2 separate regions of the Homo sapiens genome follow, and region 1 is linked to region 2. Evidence: promoter capture Hi-C in 16 types of primary human blood cells and fetal thymus (Javierre and others, 2016). All regions are on one chromosome and are shown on one strand. Each heading gives the region's core, a stretch centred on a gene start or on the middle of the fragment in contact. The rest is flanking DNA. Distances are from core to core; before and after follow the strand shown.

Region 1 (5,818 bases), core at 1,679-4,178, 60 kb after region 2:
TTCAAAATGTTCTATATAGCAGATGTTCCAGATAGACTGCAAACAAATGTCAATGACTGCAGTTATCACACAAACACGTCCACGCACATCCCGCCATGACCACTGCCACCCCATGCTGTTTGATTTCTGAGTCAGACATCTGATTCTGAGTCAGAAAACAAAACATATTTATATCTATTTAGCTTTTCTGAAACTCTCTGGCTAGTTTAATAAATTCACAAAGTATTTCAGACAATTGTTTTCTGATCCATCTAAGTTGCATCAGCACATTGTGTGGGGATGCAGCTGGTTTGTCCAAATGTTCAGATCAATGTGCATAATGTTCACACTACAACTGGAAATTTATATGTGATGTTTGATCAGAAATCCTGAACTTTATCTTGAATAAATGATATTGTTCAAGTTTTCAATTGCCTTCAGGACTGGGCTGATTTATGAGGCAATTCATGTGCATGATATTCTTCAAGAAATGTGCCATGAAAACTGTTCAATTGCTTGAATGGTTACTTATATATTTTATTTCTTCTGCATCTAAACTTTGTTTATATCCAAGTATCTTGTTAATAGACACATGACTGGATTATAATTAGTGTTTGCTTTAAAAAGGAAATTTTTTTTATTATACTTATGTTCTAGGGTACATGTGTACAACGTGCAGGTTTGTTATATATGTATACATGTACCATGTTGGTGTGCTGCACCCATTAACTCGTCATTTACATTAGGTATTTCTCCTAATGCTACACCTCTCCTATCCCCACCCCATGACAGGCCCCAGTGTGTGATGTTCCCCGTCCTGTGTCCAAGTGTTCTCATTGTTCAATTCCCACCTGTGAGTGAGAATATGCAGAGTTTGGTTTTCTGTCCTTGCGATAGTTTGCTCAGAATGATGGTTTCCAGCTTCATCCATGTCGCTACAAAGGACATGAACTCATCTAAAAAGGAAATTTTTAAAAGCTTATAGGATGTGTATATAACATATTAGGGTGAATCTTATGTACAGAAATCATGGACTAATTGATACAATCCAAAACTATCACCCCCTTACTATTCACCATCTCTTGTTCCCATCTGACGTGAAATCTTCATGGAGTCAGTCTTCTCATAGACAATGAGAGAATTACCTTTAAGAATCACAAATTTTTCCTTGAAAAGAGATCCTGGGAAACTCTGATATAGCATAATTTCTTATTTGAACGTAGTATCTGCACATGAACTTCCTAGTTTAGAGGAGACTTTCACCTAGATAATATCACTGCAAACACTCTTTTAGCTTGCTATTCTTAGCATGGAGGGCGGGAGGTATGGCAGAGGTAAAACCCTTAGGGCTTGGAGCATGGATTCAAGATGAAAGCCGTGTCCTAAGCAGTCAGTAAACAGGAGGGAAATGAGCCAAAGAAGGCGGGTGAAGGGATCCAGGTGATTGAGATACTTAAAGATAGAAGGTTTTGGGGTGACGGCCAAGGAGAAAACCAAAGCCAAATACAGCTTGCTCAACAACTCTGATAGGATAGGGACCCAAGTTTTCCCAAATGAAAAATGCAGATATGGAGAAGTAATCTGGGAAGTATAGTATAATGATTAAGAACATGGGATTTGAAATTAACAAACCTGTGTTCTCACTCAAAGTCCACAGAAGAGTGGCTGGGTAAAGTTGAGCAAATCACATTGCCTCTCTGAGCTTCAGTATCCTCTTTGGTTAAATGCAGTTGTTGTGAATTACATAAATAACATAATAAATGCAAAATAGTAGCTAATGCTTGGCCACAGTTGATATTTGTGTTCTGCTAGAATACGTTTCTATAACATGAATCATCTCATTTGTGATTTGTAAATGGGGAAATGCTGTGGTTATATAGTATAGAAATTATGTTGTTTCATTCACGATTTTCTTGGCACTTGGATCTGGATTGGTAGGAATAGAACTCTCACCTTCCTCAGGAAAGGAAAAAGTCCTTAGCTTGGCTGCTGAACAGGCAACAGGAACCCTTTCAGCTTTATTTTGAGAAAATTAAAATAAGTGTCTGCACCTGGGCCTCCCTCCCCAGAGTCACTCTGGGTTCTACAGGGCTCTGGACTTTATAGGGCTCTACCCCAGCCTTGTAGAGCCCTGGTCTGTGTCCAATCATACTCCCTCCTGTGTTCACCTTGTTAGCCTCGCTGCCTCTATCTACATTTGCCTTTCACCCCACCACCACTGTTCTAGTGAAAGCATCACCAGCATTTCCACTCTCTTGTTTTTGTGTATTTCTAATATCCTGTGAGGCATTTAAAGTTGCATGTCTGAGTGATGCATGTGATCTTCTTAGTACTAATAATAAGTGTGTTTGTTAGTACTCTGGTTACAGTGTTGCACATACATACAGATAGGTAGGTAGGTAGGTAGACAGGTAGACAGATTTTTTTTTTTTTTTTTTTTTTTTGAGACAGGATCTCATTCTGTCACCCAGGCTGGACTATGGTGGTGGGATCATGGCTCACTGTAGCCTCAACCTCCTGGGCTCAAGTGATCCTCCTGCCTCAGCCTCCTGAGTAGCTAGGACTATAGGCGAGCACCACTATGCCTGGCTAATTTTTAAATTTTTTGTAGAGGTAGGATCTTGCAGTGTTGCCTAGGCTGGTCTCAAACTCCTGGGCTCAAGCAATCCTCCTGCCTCAGCCTCCCAAAGTTTTGGGATTACAGGCATGAGCCACTCTGCCCAGCTGCATGTATTTTTTTAGTGGTTTCTTCTTAACCCTATTTCTCTCATAATCCCTGCATTATTTTGTTCTTATACTTTTAACTTCTTTTTTATTAATGTATTTAACATGTCATAAAATGTTCAGATCTCGAGTATACTATTCAACCAGGTAGATAAATACACATCAAAACACGGAATTTCTATCACCCCAGAAACTTCCCTTGTGCAACTTCCCAGTCAATGCCCCGCCTCCACCTCTAGCACCCTAAGGAACAACCACTGGTCTGATAGGTTAGCTTAGCCTGTTCTAGAACTCAGTTACACAGTATGTACTTTTTTGTGTGTTTGTCTTTTTTCTGTCAGCATGATGGGATTATGTTGTGTTTCTTAGTAGTAGTTTTTTATTATTGAGTTGTATTTCCTTGTATGAATATTCCAAAATTTGATTGTTTTTCCTGCTGTTATTGGATATCTGCAGTATATGCAGTTTGGGGTTACGACGGACAAAGCTGCTATGAACGTCTGTGTACAAGTCTTTGTGTGCACATATGTTTTTATTTCACCTAGAATAAATATCTAGGAGTAGAACTGTTAGGACATAGCATAGCTGTGACTGTCACTTTTTAAGAAACTGTCAAATGGTTTTCGGTAGTTTTTATAGCATTTCACGCTCCCACCAGCAGTGTGGGTGGTTTTAGTGTTCCACATCTTCAGTATTTGGTAGTGTTAATCTTTGTCATTTTAGCCACTCTACTAAATGGGTATTTCATTGTGATTTTAATATATATTTTTCAGATGTAATGATGTTGGGACCTTTTTCTTGTGCTGATTGGCCATTGTATATCTTCTTTGTGAAGTGTCTAAGTCTTTCACCCATTTTAAAATTAAGTTTTCTGTCCTTTTATTCTTGGATATAAGTCCTTTGACAGATATGTGCTATGAATAGTTGATCTTAGTCTGGGGTTCTTTAATGAACCCTGATATTTTTAATATACAATTTTACAGAACATGAGGTTTTTTCCAGTATAGATAGTATTATACAAGCCCCGTACTCTATAAATGTCATCCATCATTGATAGCTAACATGATAACGGCTCTAATAATGTTATAATTTTCATTTTCAACAGGCAATTAATTGTGGGGCCTTTGCCTGAGACCTCATTGCTTAGTCATTTAGAAAGTTGCTTTATCTCAACTTTCTTCAGAGGCAATGTATCCAAGACACCTGGTCCCATCCTACATGGCAGATGGCAACAGCAGGGGATACAGTAGCCATTGTTTTACTTCCTTCTATATGAAGCATATATTTGTTCTAGAGGCATTACAGGTCCAACTCCAAACATGTAAAGCAGAATGCAAAGGTGAATGCAAATTGTGGTCATAAGCCAACTTGTTTTGCCATGTGGAAAATATGGAAATAGTTGCTATGCATTGCACAAAACATCTGTTGAAATAAGGCTTTCAATTTGAATGCTTCAAGATAGACTGTTTCTAAAACCCAAGATTGCCTGGTGAGCAAGCAGATGGGCAATTTAGACAATCTTATACTAGCTCATCATCGCTTCTGAAACACGGCTTCATTGGCAATTGTAAGATAGTATTCTGAATTTGTATTTTGGAGATACACGACCTTCAGAAACACACGATGGCCACTTCTTATTGCTTTGGTTGCTATTGTTTAGATGTAGATCAGAAGGAGCACAGGGCCTTCCTTCTTAATACAGTTAAGACAGAATTTTTTAAAAATTTCATCTTTACCAGGGTCCTAAGTATTAATAAGAAATAAATTTTAAATTACTTTTGTAGGTTAGAAATACTTATTTTTTTTTCCCCTGAGACAGAGTCTTGCTCTGTCACCCAGAGCTGGAGTGCAATGGCTTGATCTCGGCTCACTGCAACCTCCGCCTCCCGGGTTCAAGCAATTCTCCTGCCTCAGCCTCCTGAGTAGGTGGGACTACAGGTGTGTGCTACCATGCCTGGCTAATTTTTTTGTATTTTTAGTAGAGACAAGGTTTCACCATGTTGTTCAGGCTGGTCTCGAACTCCCGACCTCAGGTGACCCATCTGCCTCGGTCTCCCAAAATGCTGGGATTACAGGCATGAGCCACCGCACCCAGCCTAGAAATACTCTTTTAAAAATATGCTTTTCTTCCTATGTGAGGGAGATGTTTGAAAAACAAACATCTGTTTTGCTCCTAGTGGGCCTAGTAACACTATGTCAAGCTTGATTGAGAAGTAAGTTATTTTTACCAAAAAAAAGTCCTATAAAATAAAAAATTTACATAGGTAATTTTCTACATAATTGAAGCTTTTAGAGCCTTTTTCCTGAAAAAAATTAAAAATTAGATTATGTACTTCTTTTCATTAGCATTATGCTCATGACTCAGAATTTCTCCAGGCTATTAAGATATAAAACTGTTGGTTTATAAAATAAGAAGCACCAGATTTCTATGTATTTTGGATGCCAGAGTATCTGCTGTTAATAATTTTCCTGGCTGTTAGTGATTTTAAAAAAAAGTGGTAGCTATTAATATGCTTCCATCTAGCAGAGCTCCTTATATCCTTGTTTAAGTTTTGCTTTTAATCTTCTTTGGGCTGAGAAGGCAGTCAAACTGGTGAAAATTATGTATATACCCAGAGCCCACTGCTTGAGTTGAAGTGTGAGGTTTGCCACGTGAATAAAGGGCATAAATATCAGTATCTATTCTAGTTGTTCAAAAGATTTGGGTTTATTTTCTGGTTTTGGCTATGTTTCAGAGAGTAGGATTTGTCAAATAAATAATATGTTATTATGTACATCAAAGAGCTAGTTAAATATTAGGTACTTTTCCCCCATTTCCATTATTCCAGGCATAAGACCTTTAGAGATTTTACTTAAGCAGAAAAACAAATATTTTTAGTTTCACAGAATGATACCCTGAGTTAAGCTCTGTTCCATGAGTCTAATCTCAGCTCCATGATTTACCAGTTACCTTTTCAATCGTCTGCACATCAGTGTTCTCATGATCTGAGATCTACTTGTAGGATTCTGGGATCCTAGGGCTGTAATTTGAGGGCTCAAGCAGAGGCTTATTGGAGATAGGATTTCTTTATCAGTAGGAGGTCAGACTGAATGACCTCTAAAATGTATTTTCTTT
Region 2 (6,250 bases), core at 154-2,653:
TTAGAACTGTCAGGAGGTAATATTACATAAATAATGAAATAACATGTTAATGCAATTCATTACAGGTTCGTTGGAATTTATTGTTCAGGTTATTCCTTTCACTGCTCTGAGAAACATCAGGTATACTAGACTCACCTGAAGCAGGATGTAAGCGTATAATTTGTCAGACGGGCAATATGGTCTAGTGGATCCAGAATTTGAATATTATTTCTGGCTCTGCTGCTGGCTTCCTTTATGACTAGGAGGGAAATGTCTCTGGGTGTTGCCAGTTTCGGTATCTGTGGATTGATAAGCAGATCGCAAGCATGGATGTTATAATAGGTTATTTCATGGGAAATTAAACAGCAAATCTAATGAGAGGAGCGGGTTACTTGGTCATTTCTTTCTAGGTGCTATTTGGTGCTTTAAGAGGACCTCTAGTATTGGATAAGTTAAAGGAGTTTCAGAAAGTGCATCATAACAACATTACTGAGAGCTCAGAATGTGCTACATGGTTCTGAGGGCCATCTGCGTATTAACCTCATTTAATCCCTGCAGCACACCCGGAGGTCATTGCATGATATTGATGCAATTTTACAGATGAAGAAACTGAAGCACATATGGTTAAATAATTTGTCCAAGATCACAAAGCTAGTAAGCAGCAGAACTGGGGTTTGAACTCAGGTTATTTAAACTCAGAGCCCCAGTTCTTATTCCCCAGTATTTGACTCCCCTTTGCTCTCACCTGGTGATAGAAATGATAATGACCAGGCTGAGCGCAATGGCTCACACCTGTAATCCCAGCACCTTGGGAGACTGAGGCAGGTAGATCGCTTGAGCTCAGGAGTTTGAGACCAGCCTGGGCAACACAACAAAACCCCATCTCTACAAAAGATACAAAAATTAGCTGGCTGTGGTGGCATGCCCCTGTCATTTCAGTTACTTGGCAGGCTGAGGTGGGGGAGTGGCTTGAGCCCAGTAGGCAGAGATTGAAGTGAGCTGAGATCGTGCCACTGCACTCAAGCTTGGGCAACAAAGCAACACTCCATTTCCAAAAAACAAAAGAAAAAGTATGAGATTTAACTTAAAAATAATTTTCCTTCATCTGATTAGAAAGTATAATCAGGATGAGCTTTAGTGTGTTGTTTTTTGTAGAGCCGGGCGGGGACCGGGGGTGGGGGGGGGTCTCACCATGTTGCCCAGGCTGGTCTTGAACTCCTGGGCTCAAGCGATCCTCCCACCTCAGCCTCCCAAAGTGCTGGGATTACAGGTGAAAGACACTGCACCTGGACTATCTTTCTGTTATTGCTGTGGTGGGGAGCACACCAAAATAGTGCCTGTCATCCTCATCCTTCCTAGGCATCTTTCCCAGCACTGCTGCTGTGATTAGTACCTTAACTCCAGCCTAGGCAGGTGCAGTGCATCAGCGGCTCTCTTCTCTAGCTTCTTTTACCTCAGCCCAAGCCACTCTGTAGAAATGGGCTCCACCCATGTCATCTGACCTGTAGGTCTCCACTCTTTCTTCCCAGTTCTCAGATGGTTCTTGGAGCACTGGCGAAGTCAAGCGAAAATAAGGTGGTGAGTTTTCCCCAACGAAATAATTAAATTTTGGCTGATGCTGGCCTTTAGTCATCGAAGGCCGAGAAAGTACCGCCCTAACCAGGGAAAAGCAATATCAGATGTAGGCTGTTCTGTTGTGTCTCAACCTCAAAATGCTTGTGGCAAAAGGGACAAACCTCCAATAAGTCTATATTAGAGGTTCAACAGAGTTCATTGAAAACTTGAAACAAATCTGAAAAGAAAAACACTCTACAAATAGGGAAAAAAGATGGGTAGCTGAGAGTGATAAAGTGAGATTCCCCAGATATGTTGCTGTCACCACAGGCAAATCTCAAATTGTTTTCAATGGAGCTTTTGGAAATTTAAATTAATCCTGCCATTTTCAGGCTTGGTCGTTTGGAATGTGTGTTAGTGAAACGCAGTGATGTAGTTTTATAGACTGTAAGAACCTTGGAGGCACCTGAATTCTTGAAGCTAGAGATTTATTGTAGGTCTTCTCTTGTTCTCTGAGAAGAAAACCAGACTTCATATAACAAGAAGTGAGACAGAAGAACAGTTTTCAGAAGCATGTGTCACTCTGCTATTTTAGGAATTGTTCCAATAAGAGATGTTTATAGTAAGCTTGGTGTGACCCAGCCAAGAAGCTTAATATAACAAGGTTAACTGAATTGTGGGAGGAAAGTTTCTAGCCTATACCAGCTTGCATTTATTAATAATCAGAAAGGTTGCGGATGACAGACTTGCTGAGCATTTACTAAATCTGGTACTTGTGGTTTGCAAATCATGTGATTAACAGCTGCTATCATCTATCCTAGAAACGGCAGGAAGAAGTGTTATTATTTTATCACATAAAATAGTAGTCACAAAGAGAATGAAAACAGTTTAATTTGGCAGATATAAAATTCACTGGTTAAGCAGAAAACCATGCTCTGCCCTCCCACTGAGCTCACTAAAGATGGGTTTCCTGGGAATGTCTCAGTGAACAGATGTTTCTTCTTAGGTTTTGATGAAGAGTTTAGTGGCATCTAATCATTAGTGAAGGGTTGTTTTGGCAAAAGGAATCTCTTGTCTATCTACACACATACTTAAATTTTTTTTTTTACGTATATTAAGGATTTTGCATTAATTACCAATAGGATCTCACATAGATGAATCATGAATGATTGACTGGCTTTCCTAATCAAGTTTTGAATGATTTTAAAAATCAGCCTGCCTGATCTAAGGTTTGGAAGTTCAATGCTCAATAAATAACTTTAGTAAAGGGAGGAAAACATTTTAAAGGAAAAAAACAGGAAAGATAATTACATTGTTAATCTGTTTGGAGTTAGAATTTGATTCAGAAAGATTTCTACAGAGCCTTTTGAATCACCCTGAAATCTGCCAGCTTTTTCCAGGATGCTGCTTTTGTACCTCTGTATACATCATATGCCATTCTTTGCAATAAAATGCAACTTTCTTAGTGATTGAATAATATAGATGTTGATAAACACAAATTATGTCATGTTGTTTACATATACATTCCTAAAGAATAAGAAATATTGTCTACATTGTACATACGTAGTAGATTAACTCATTGAAGTCAGAACAAATGTAGATTTCTATAAGTCCCAAAGAGTATGGATGTCTTAGAGGTTGATGTTGAAGTCTGCAGTTACACTGGTGGTGAAAATCAAATATATAACGAATAACTTTAGGTAAGAATCAAATCGGACTTGTTTTACAGATGTTGCCATGTGTTAGAGGATTTTACTTGTTGCTTTATAGTTTTGGATCGGGCAGATGGTTGAAAAGTGTTGATTCAAGAGCTTTGACTGTATGGAACAAGATAATTGAGGCAATAATAATAATGGGACTCAGAATCTATAAGCCAGAGCAATGAAGCATAGTTCAATCAATAGGAGGAATAAAAAAGATTAGCAACATAAGCAGTATCGATAATCTCTAACATCATTTTACATTACATTTAGCTCACATGAATCCAAGTGGAAATTCCTCTAACAGATTTATAGTTCCACTTCTTAATTTTCTGTTTATAACCCTAGAAATAGCAAACAATATGTATAACATTCTGTGCAGTGCATATAATAGCCACATAATAGATGCTCCTAAATTTTTCCTAGCCTCACTCCCAAGCTGGGATAATTTCCTATTATAGGTTCTCATGGCTCCTGACTATGTAATTATTTATTTGACATTTTTCAGGTTGTCAGATTTAGCTAAAAAAAAAAAAAATACAAGACAGCCAGTGAAATTTGAATTTCAAATAAACAACAAATAATTTTCCAGTATAACTATGTCCTGTGCAACATTTGGGGGCATACTTACACTAAAAAATTAGTCATTGTTTATCTGAGATTAAAATTTTATTGGGCTTCCTAAATTTAACCTAATAGCTCTAGTGGCTTACTTGTTCATAGCTGTATCTTCCACAGACTACGAGTTTCAGGATATTGTTTTCTTCATCATTGTATCCCCAGTATTTGCACAGGGCTTAGCACTTAGCAGAAATTCAATAAATATTGGTTGGCTGTCTAAAGGGATGGATATTAAAACTACTTTAATATATTAGATACATTGGCTCACACCAGTAATTCCAGCACTTTGGGAGGCTGTGTTGGGTGGATTACTTTAGCTCAGGAGTTTGTGACCAGCCTGGGCAACATGGGGAAACCCCATCTCTACCAAAAATACAAAAGATTAGCTGGGCATAGTGGCATGTGCCTGTGATCCTAGCTATTGAGGAAGCTGAGGTGGGAGGATCACCTGAGCCTGGGAGGTGGAGGTTCCAGTGAGCCGAGATTGTGCCACTGCACTCCAGCCTGGGTGACAGAGGGGGCACCATATCAAAAAAAAATGTATTTTAATTAAAAGTATACAAACTGAGCCAGGTGTGGTAATCCCAGCTACTTGGGAGGCTGAGGCAGGAGGATCACTTGAACCTAGGAGTTTGAGGCCGCAATGTGCTATGATCACACCTGTGAATAGCCACGGCTCTACAGCCTGGGTAACAGAGACCCAGTCTCTACAAAATTAAAAATAATTTTAAAAACCATGGAAAATGCAACTGAGGTTCATAGAACTTGAAAGCAAAAGAAGCAGTTCTTGCCATTGGGTTATCTACAAGTGTACCATCTTTATGTAGTAAATAATCAACTAAGATCGCTAAGAGGGAAATTCCTTTTAAAAGAGATAGACTCCAAGCAACTGATTCTCCTAGTACAATTCACTTTCAGTTCTTAATTTTCACTTAATGCCTTTTCAAAGGCAGTTACTGTACAAAGCAAGTTGGGCTTGTATTTTTAAGTATTCTGGCAGATTGCAGCTAATCCTTTCTACCAGGATCGAAAATTAAAAAAGACGTTAAGAGGTTTAGACAGAAGAGACAGGAGATATTTCCAAGCTGCATATGGAGAAGATGACACAAATTTTGAAATCTTTATCACCCCATCTTATTTATTAAACTCCCACCCATGTTCTGCTCTATATTAGAAAAAGCAAAACAAGTTAATCTTATGCAGCTTTGGTAGCTCATGAAGAGCCATTGTTTTCAGTGCACTCTTTATAAGGTTTAGCTTATCAACCACAAAGCAGGGCTCACTTAGGTAAGTCAGGAAAGTTTAGAAGACAGTAGAAGAAAGCCTGGGAAACATGGTGAAACCCTGTCTCTACTAAAAGTACAAAAAAAATTAAAAAAAAATGCTAAGTGTGATGGTGCACGCCTGTGGTCCCAGCTACTTGAGAGGCTTAGGTAGGAGGATTGCTTGAGCCTGGGGAGTTGGAGGTTGCAATGAGCCATGAGTGCACCACTGCACTCCAGCCTGGGTAACAGACCAAGACCCTGTCTCGAAAATAAATAAACAAATGAAAACAGATGGTTAAAGGAAAAAAAATGCCTTGGAAATGCAAGTAGAAACATGTGCCTTATGTGCTAGGAACATTAATCTAGGTCAGTTACAAATGCCTACAAAGTGAGACTGTTTGTTATGGCTTGAACAGCCTACCACATCATCATTCAGTGACAGGAGGGGACAGGATTTGGGAGCATGAGTTTCCAGTTCTGGGGTCTCTTTTAGCCTCATGTCCAACCTGTGCCTAAATTCTCTGGTTCTATAAGGGAGAAACGGTCAACTCACATTGAGAACAATGACAGATACTTAACTACTCTTTTGGTTTTTTTTTTTTTTTTTGAGACAGAGTCTCGCTCTGTCACCCAGGCTGGAGTACAGTGGCACGATCTCAGCTCACTGCAACCTCTGCCTCCTGGGTTCAAGCAATTCTCCTGCCTCAGCCTCCTGAGTAGCTGGGATTACAGGCATGTACCAACCATGCCCTGCTAATTTTTGTATTTTTAGTAGAGACGGGGTTTCATCATGTTGGTCAGGCTGGTCTCGAACTCCTGACCTCGTGATCCACCCGCCTCAGCCCCCAAAGTGCTGGGATTACAGGCCATCGTGCCCGGCCTTAACTACTGTTTTATAAGGCTCTTTGCTCGACATAGGGAAGTCAGATGTGTTCCTGCCAAGTCAGTCAACTGTAGATTTGGAATGCTTTGTGTTCAAGGGTGAAGCCTCTTCTGTCATTACTGCTACTGCACTTCTACCTTCCCCCTGGAGCAACTGAGCAGCTCTTATTTATTCAAGGTGGGAATTTCTCCAGAAAAGGTGATCCTGAAAAGTAGTTGGGAGCCAACAATCACAGCAGCTGGGGGATA

The links. The method cuts DNA at HindIII sites, captures the fragments that hold promoters and counts their contacts. A CHiCAGO score of 5 or more calls a contact.
Region 1: a fragment that was not itself captured here is called in contact with the fragment with the promoter of LINC02909 in region 2 in 2 of 17 cell types (total B cells and naive B cells); the score reaches 9.0 in total B cells.

Annotation. Positions count from the first base shown.
Region 1 is chr12:25,054,854-25,060,671 of GRCh38, forward strand. The region is part of intron 1 of IRAG2 (inositol 1,4,5-triphosphate receptor associated 2); the gene reads left to right. Among named protein-coding and RNA genes, the nearest start is that of IRAG2, 5.1 kb to the left of the region's middle. The HindIII fragment of the contact is 3,947 bases long and covers 956-4,902 here.
Region 2 is chr12:24,996,062-25,002,311 of GRCh38, forward strand. It overlaps LINC02909 (long intergenic non-protein coding RNA 2909), which reads right to left and starts at 1,404. Exons shown (of 4, transcript NR_171024.1): 1 at 1,171-1,404; 2 at 136-278; 3 at 1-6. It also overlaps a transcript of IRAG2 not described here. RefSeq lists enhancers at 1,963-2,092, 2,343-2,452. The HindIII fragment of the contact is 1,157 bases long and covers 1,002-2,158 here.